Linked DNA regions of Homo sapiens: region 2 is linked to region 1. Evidence: promoter capture Hi-C in 16 types of primary human blood cells and fetal thymus (Javierre and others, 2016). All regions are on one chromosome and are shown on one strand. Each heading gives the region's core, a stretch centred on a gene start or on the middle of the fragment in contact. The rest is flanking DNA. Distances are from core to core; before and after follow the strand shown. Region 1 holds the start of FRMD4A-AS3 (FRMD4A antisense RNA 3). Region 2 overlaps FRMD4A (FERM domain containing 4A).

What was found. Contacts are between HindIII fragments. The CHiCAGO score rates a contact against its expected background, and 5 or more counts as called.
Region 2: a fragment that was not itself captured here is called in contact with the fragment with the promoter of FRMD4A-AS3 in region 1 in 2 of 17 cell types (endothelial precursors and activated CD4 T cells); the score reaches 5.1 in endothelial precursors.

The regions. Positions count from the first base shown.
Region 1 is chr10:14,072,748-14,077,004 of GRCh38, reverse strand. FRMD4A-AS3 (FRMD4A antisense RNA 3) reads right to left here and starts at 2,721. Exons shown (of 3, transcript NR_120638.1): 1 at 2,179-2,721. All of the region lies in intron 2 of FRMD4A (FERM domain containing 4A), which reads left to right. The HindIII fragment of the contact is 2,533 bases long and covers 1,139-3,671 here.
Region 2 is chr10:13,848,053-13,852,417 of GRCh38, reverse strand. All of the region lies in intron 3 of FRMD4A (FERM domain containing 4A), which reads left to right. Among named protein-coding and RNA genes, the nearest start is that of FRMD4A-AS2, 140 kb to the left of the region's middle. The HindIII fragment of the contact is 2,698 bases long and covers 960-3,657 here.

The DNA.
Region 1 (4,257 bases), core at 1,472-3,971:
CTGTAAGCCTCCAGACTCTTCCCTCTCCCTTGAGAACCCTCCAGCTTGGACACCTCCCCTCTTCACCTCTGTATCTCTTCCTTACTCATAATCTCCCCTCCAACTCCCTGACTTGTGTGCTTATTGAGGACAAGGACCACATCTCATGTAGCTTTGTATTCTGACACAAGTAGTTGATTTCAATGGCCAGGGAATATCTGTGGAATGAATGAATGAGGAAAGTAATCAAGTAATGAATTATTGGGGAGAGATACAGACAAGTGTAGAAAAAGGGAAATGCCTGGATGTTTTTCCACGTTGACCCTTTCCCCCACCCCAAAGTTCATAGTAATGCATCTAACAATGATCCACATTTTTTTTTTTTTGAGACGGAGTCTCGCTCTGTCGCCCAGGCTGGAGTGCAGTGGCGTGATCTCAGCTCACTGCAAGCTCTGCCTCCCGGGTTCACGCGGTTCTCCTGCCTCAGCCTCCCGAGTAGCTGGGACTACAGGCTCCCACCACCACACCCAGCTAATTTTTTGTATTTTTAGTAGAGACAGGGTCTCACTGTGTTAGCCAGGATGGTCTCGATCTCCTGACCTCATGATCCACCTGCCTCGGCCCCCCAAAGTGCTGGGATTACATGCATGAGCCACTACACCTGGCCATGATCCACATTTTAATGTGGATCTGGCTTCATTACATGATGGCTTTAACCCAGCCCTGGAAATGACAAAGTAAACCCAAGCACATTTTCATCTTTCACCATGCTGGAAAAATCCCAAGTCTTTGGTAAGCTCGCAGGTAACATGGGAAAGGCAGGTGGGGATCCATGCACAGGTCTTCATGACATAGCTGTGGATGGCTGGGTTAGACACACACTGGGCAAATGAACAGGTGAAGGGGTGCATAGTGAGCCAGCCTTGTAGTAATGAAACCCGGTTATTCAGAGGCCCAGGTGAGCAGCGGAAATAAAACAGAGTTGCCATCAACTAAGGTCAGGTTCTTCTGGTCAATGTTCCATCCTCCTGTGGTTCAAAATAGATGCTACATTACCATGAACATGAGAGTTAGGCCAAGTTCTGTCCAACATGCAGACATTAGGAAAAAGCAAGCACAGACACAATCACACAATCTCTTCCTGTAACTGGGGGAAGCTTCTCTCTCCGGCTTTATGACAATGCAGAAATATCATCAGATGTGGTTTGTTGATTCCTAGATTAATGGTTTATATATATGTGTGTGTGTGTGCATATACATATGTGTGTGTATAAATATAAAATATACACACACACTATATGTATACACACATACTATACAGCATATGGATATAAAGGTATACACATAATACAGAAATTATACCCACACATGCTTATATTTGCCTATATTTAAGAAATTTGCATCATGCACAGCCAGTGAAACTTTACGCTTTCATATCTAAGCCATTTCAGCTCAGGTTAGGCTAAAGAATACTTTTTCACTGTTGGTTTTGAGAAGCAACATGATATGTTGGAAGGAGCAACGACAGAAAGAGATAGGCACAGGTTCCAGTTCTGTCCCTGTTCCTAGTGCCCAGGAAGGCTACGTAATCTCTATAGACCTTGGTCTCCTGATTTGGAAAATAGAAATAATAAACCACACACACATCATGTTGTTCTAACAGTTAAACATGGTTGTGGAGGTCAAGCATTTAACATGTGTCTGGATCCATTAGGTGTTAAGAAAATAATATGTCCTCCCCTTTCCTCTTCTCAATATAGTAAAATAATCAGATGAGCAGCATTTCACCAGGACATAAAGTGCTTACAACTGGAAGGAAAAACCATTTTTCAAGGTGATGTAGACCATTTATTGTTTTTATGTAAATGTGATTGTAACTTAAAACAAGCTGTATCTAGTGACCAGTGGTGACCTTACAGTGTCTTTTCTTGGCAGTGCTACGTTAGCACTGGAAACTGGTTCAAGTTACCATAGTTTGCTTGCTTTTTTAATTCATAAGGACATCTTTCTTTGATTCTACTCTATGAAACATAGACTGTCAACTAATTCTGGGTAATCTCTTCTCCCTACCTGCAGGATTTTCTGTATTACAAGCTCTGGTAGTATCTAGATTAAACCATCTAAGAGTAAATTCCTGGAAGTCAAGGTCAGAGAGCTTTTCTTACACAGCCTCCCATCACCCAATCCACCATGGCTTACCAGGGTTATCCTCTTAAAATTCCCTCCTGTCCTGTATGAGTCTCCTCAGTGGAGTCCGTCTCCATTCCAGCTGTGTGTAGCCATAAGTTTGACAAATCAACGAGTTCCTGGACACCTTCCAGAATCTGTGGAATTTGAGTCCGGCAGCGACTCAAAAATGGTAAGGGGGAGGAGCTAGTTTTACAGCCAAACATGCGTGCAGATTAAATCAGTGCCCTGCCAGATGAAATGCTTGCCCTTCTACGTGTTCCTGAGGCGTGACCCTCTGAAAGCATGAATCCCCATGGGCATTGCGCCAGGACACAGGAATCCTGCTGCTCAGCACAGCAGTTCATAGCATTCACAGCGTCTGCCATGTCGTTTCAACTGTTGATTCTGATTGCTGTTGCTTTTATCGTCTCGGCATATCCAACACTGCAGCTATGAAATAGCTGATAATTCATCTCGTTGAAGACCCAGGTCTTAAACATTTGCACCATCTGAATCTGACCCTCAGGTCTGGACAAGTAGAGGCCTGTAGCATGGAACCTGGGTCGTGCCGAGTGGGCACAACCTTGGAGCATACATCCCCCTCCCCCATCCACTGCTTCATTATTTGCCGTCTCCATGGAAACCCCATTCTGTACTGTCAGAACTCACCTTGGCCACCTTTGTACTTACCACCTAAGCACTTTCTTGGTGCTATGGTACTACATATGAAACAAAAAAAATTTTTTTTGAGACTATCTTGCTCTGTCATCCAGGCTGGAGTGCAGGGGCACGATCTCAGCTCTGTTCAGCCTCTGCCTCCAGGTTTCAAGCAATTCTCCTGCCTCAGCCTCCCGAGTAGCTGGGATTACAGGCACACACCACCATGCCTGGCTAAATTTTGTATTTTAGTAGAACCAGAGTTTCACTATGTTGCCCAGTCTAGTCTTGAACTCCTGCCCTCAAGTGATCCTCCCACCTCAGCCTTCCAAAGTGCTGGGATTACAGACATGAGCCACCGCCCTATGCAAAATTTAAAAGGAACTTTTGGTGACCCAATTTATACAGGGCAACCTCCAGTCTTTTAACACCTAAGTTATTAGGGATTTCATCTTGACCAGTGGGTAGGTCACAACAGGATCCCGGTGGTGGTGAAAAACCCATGAACACGACACATTCATACCCCTGGACTTCCCCTCACTCCGTTCGCTTCTTCTACAGCAGCCCTTGGACAAGCAAAGACAATGCCAACAACATCAGCCATCATCCCTGAGATCTTTCCCATCATGGACACCAGCCAAGTAATAAGTGACCCCAGCCCCCAGTGTTATTTTGCTTTGGGAGGGTATATCCAGGGTCCTTGGTGTCTAGATTTATCCACACAACCACAAAACCAACCACACAAAGACTGATGGGCAGATTAAGTCAATCACCTAGGAACTCAAGGAATGGGACATTTCTTGCAGCAACTCAATGGATCTAATTCTTCATGACCTAGAACACCCTCCCTTCCCACCAAAGAAGCTTCCAGCTTCATCCCATCTGTCACCTTGTAGCCCTCCCTTCAGCTCCATTAACAAGCCAGCATCCAACTCGCCCTCACTCCCACTACTGCCCCCAGCCTACTAAAGGGACTACAAGAAATACACCAATTATTAAGAGCCCCAGGGAGGGCATATGAATAAAAGACACCACCTGTCACCAACCTCTGAGCTGAGAGATGGAGGTACCCTGGGTTTCCTGGACAGCTGGTAAGGGTGCAGGTTACAAGGGGTTCTCGTAGTGTATGTCTTGTTTTTGTTTCTTTTCTCTATTTCTAAAGCTATTATTTTTTTATCCCTTCTTTTTGGCTCTTTCTCTCTTTCCTTTCATATGAATTATAAACATATGTATATATTTCTCTGATAATCAGTATGCCTGGCTATACTTGACCAAGACTTTTGTTAAAGAAACAAACTTTATATCTGGGAAGTGCAGGTCTGGGGACTGAAAGGAAAGCTATTTTCCGGAAGCACGTTTTATTGCTTTTATGACTCAAATATCTCCATCTCACCTCATTTTCCTTTAAAGCTAAATATGTAGCAAATGGAGATGTACTGATATGGAATCTCA
Region 2 (4,365 bases), core at 1,059-3,558, 220 kb after region 1:
CCCTGTCTCTACCAGGCATGGTGGCGTGCGCCTGTAGTCCCAGCTACTCGGGAGGCTGAGGCAAGGGAATCACTTGAACCTGGGAGGTGGAAGTTGCAGTGAGTCGAGGTCACGCCACTGCACTCCAGCCCAGCAACAGAGCAAGACTCCATCTCAAAAAAAAAAAAATTAAAATCTTATATTGGGCTAACTTTTGTGGCTCACGTTGTATTTCTTTTGGATGGCTATTTCTAGAGCAGTAGGCCCAAACCTTTTGGCACCAGGGACTGGTTTCATGAAAGACAATTTTTCCACAGATGGGGTGTGGGAGGTATGGTTTCAGGATGATTCAAGCATATTACATTTATTGTGCACTTTATTTCCATGATTACTACATTGTAACATATAATGAAATAATTCTACAGCTCACCATAATGTCAAATCAGTGGGAGCCCTGAGCTTGTTTTCCTGCAACTAGATGGTCCCACATGTGAGTGATGGGCATCAGGCATTAGAATCTTTTTTTTTTTTTTAATTTTTGAGACAGAGTCTTGCTTTGTCACCAGGCTGGAGTGAAGTGGTGCAATCTCAGCTCACTGTAACCTTCGCCTCCTGAGTTCAAGCGATTCTCCTGCCTCAGCCTCCTGAGTGGCTGGGATTACAGGCAGGCGCCACCACACCCAACTAATTTTTGTATTTTTAGTAGAGACAGGGTTTCACCATGTTGGCCAGGACAGTCTCAATCTCCTGACCTCATGATCCACCCGCCTCGGCCTCCCAAAATGCTGGGATTACAGGTGTGAGCCACCACGCCTGGCCTAGATTCTTATAAGGAGTGTGCAAACTAGATCCCTCACGTGTATAGTTCACCGTAGGGTTTGGACTCCTGCGAGAATCTAATGCTGCTGCTGATCTGACAGGAGGTGGGGCTCAGGCAGTAATGCAAGCAATGGGGAGAGGCTATAAGTATAGGTGAAGCTTCTCTCGCTGCTCATCTCCTGCTGTGCAGCCCCATTCCTAACAGGCCATAGACTGGTACCAGTCCATGGCCCAGGGGTTGGGGATTCCTGCTATAGAAGATAGAAAACAATTTAAGCTAGAGAAAATATTATGAAGGCAATCGAATTGTTTGGGGTTACCCAGATATAATACTGGATGTTTGGCACAATAATGACTACATTTTACAATTCTTTTTCTTTTTCTTTTTCTTTTTTTGTTTTGTTTTGAGACGAAGTCTCACTCTGTCGCCCAGGCTGGAGTGCAGTGACGTGATCTCTGCTCACGGCAACCTCTGCCTCCCGGGTTCAAGTGATTTTCCCACCTCAGCCTCCAGAGTTGCTGGGATTACAGGCACCCGCCATCATGCCCGGCTAATTTTTGTGTGTTTGTAAAGACGGGATTTCACTGTGTTGGCCAGGCTTCTCTGAAACTCCTGATCTCAGGTGATCCACCCGCCTTGGCCTCCCAAAGTGCTGGGATTACAGGCATGAGCCACTACACCTGGCCTACAATTCTTTATAGAATTTATATGGAGCATATCTTATTTAATCCTCACAGTAACTGTGTAAAGTAGGTGCCAAGCAAACAGAAATTCAGAAAGATTAAATAACTTGCTCAAGGTCACGTAGCTAGTGAAGTATAGGTAGCTCGAGCATAGGTCCTCTGATAGTATAGCCCATTCTCTTTTCACTGCACCATAACCAGTATATATAATAAAAACCCAAGATTCACAAGATATGATCTATTAATAGTTCACCTGGAATATGCTCCTCTGCCAGCCCCTGACACCAGAGCCATAAACGATGGCAACCAAAGACTTCGAACCTTATCTCAGGTCTGCAATGGAAGATGGGCTTACCCAGGTCATTTCATTCCTGTGAACTCACTTCCTAACCTATCTGGGAAAGCCTGAAACATGTGACACATCCTCATGAAGGACTTGTGCGTCCTGCGTAAGTCTCGGGCTAGCAGGTGTGGAAGACACTTCCACAGCAGTGGATGAAATAATGGTCGCCTTCCTGTCACTTTCCTCTGTCTGACAGCGATGCTGGTGATATCCCATCTTAAAGGTCGAGTACATTAATATGGGCTGTCAGTAAAATAGCACTGAGGGCAAGTAAATAGTCTGGGCTATTATGGGCTAGAAAAAAAAATGTATGACTTTTTAAAAATCTAGAACTGTAATAATCTTACCTAAAATAGGTGAATAAACTTGGTTCTCTTTTTTTTTGAGATGGAGCCTCACTCTGTCACCCAGGCTGGGGTGCAGTGGTGTAATCTCGGCTTACTGGCTTATTGCAACCTCCACCTCCTGGGTTCAAGCAATTCTCCTGCCTCAGCCTCCTGGGTTCAAGTGCTTCTCCTGCCTCAGCCTCCCAAGTAGCTGGGATTACAGGCACCTGCCACCACCCACAGCTTATTTTTTTATTTTTAGTAGAGGCGGGATTTCACCATGTTGGCCAGGCTGGTCTCGAACTCCTGATCTCAGGTGATCCACCCACCTCGGCCTCCCAAATGCTGGGATTACAGGTATGAGCCACTGCGCCCGGCCTAAACTTGGATTCTCTATGCACAGGTGCACACCCATGTTTATATTCACCCTCATAGCCCAGCCTTAGCAACTTCTGTGGTTAATGATATTCTGCAAAAATGCAAGAGATGGCCAGGTGCTGTGGCTCACACCTGTAATCCCAACACTTTGGGAGGCCGAGGCGGGTGGGTCACCTGAGGTCGGGACTTTGAGACCAGCCTGACCAACATGGTGAAAGCCCGTCTCTACTAAAAATACAAAATTAGCCGGGCATGGTGGTGCATGCCTGTATCCCAGCTACTCGGGAGGCTGAGGCAGGAGAATCCCTTGAACGTGGGAGATGGAGGTTGCAGTGAGCCAAGATCGCACCATTGCACTCTAGCCTGGGCAACAAGAGCGAACTCCGTATCAAAAAAAAAAAAAAAATGCAGGAGATTGTTTTCTACCAAGTAAAGCAGGAATCCCCCCCAAAGTGCATGTTGCCAAGCAGAGAATATGGAGTTGATTCCGTGTCTTCCCAACTGAGTAGTGTGGGCAGGTGGGCTCATTGTGGTCTGCCTGCTGGGCCATCTACCGAGGCGTGCTCCAGGTCTGCCATCTGCTCCTGTCTGGTCTGAATCCACCAGGAGTTTCTGTCACAGCCAAGGGCTGGGAAGGCGTGTGCAGAAGCTGGGAGCAGACAGAGGGACTCAGTGTTATGAACCTTCTGTCCGGGACCTCCCAGGCCACCAGGCCACCTCCTGAAACAAGAGCCAAAGGGGTTCAGGCAGCCCCACTTTGGGCTGACCTCACACCTCACTGCGATCCCATCATCATTTATTAGGCTCCTCTCTGCAAAGCTGGGCACTCCACCAAATGAGCAAAACAGATGTCTTCCCAGCCCCCAGGGGTGGCTGATAATATTTAACATTTGAAAAGCACATGGTGAAGAAAGACATGGTAAGATATAGAGCACAGACAGATAACGCAATGGTAAATCTATTTGTAATAAAAAACGCATTGAGTGATGGAGAGGAATAAGAAATAGTCCATAAAACATACTCTTGGGGAGCACAAGCAGCTAAGTCGTTTCCCCCTTGGTAAGGAGGGAGGAGACACGATCCATCTTCCTTCTTCAGCCAAGGCCTTTGTAGAAAAGTCGGTAAGCTTTCTTTCTGCCCTGGTTAGAACAAAGGGGAATTCCAGTCTCCCCAAGAGGCTGTGAGAGAGGGCTGAGCATCAGGATACAGCAGATTGATGCGATCATCTAGGGAACCCCCTGCCGCGTTTACACACACACACACACACACACACACACACGTACACACACACACTCACACCCAGGTGCTGGTTGAGGAGAGGAGAAGAGACCATCCCCATCTCCCCAGCCTAATGGGTCCACGCTGCCAGTTGCCTGGCAACACCCCTTCTTTGCGCCCCTGCCCCCCTCCCCCTTCTTCCTGGACCACCTCCATGTCTGTGCTCCTTGTCCCTTTGATGCCAATTTTAACCTGTTGTAAAATGTATTCATTGAAACCATTTGAAATTGCCAATATTTGGCAGACTTTGTCCTGCTAAGGGGACAATTTCATGTGGCTCAAACGTAAAGGGAGAGAGAAAAAAAGGGAGAGAAGACTTAGCCCTCCAGAACATTGCAGGTGGTTGTTTCTTTTACTACTGAGTTATTTTTTCCGTGATATCTTCACAAAATCCTTTCCATGTCCTCTCTATGGTGCCCCATAGGAGACTCTGTGCAGATGGGAGCCTCAGGATAGGACATTAAACTACATGCTCCTAGTTTCTGTCTTTCTGCTAATGGGGGATAAGAAGGGATTGGGGAGATTAAAACAAACTCAACTCACAATGCAGTTCTGCAA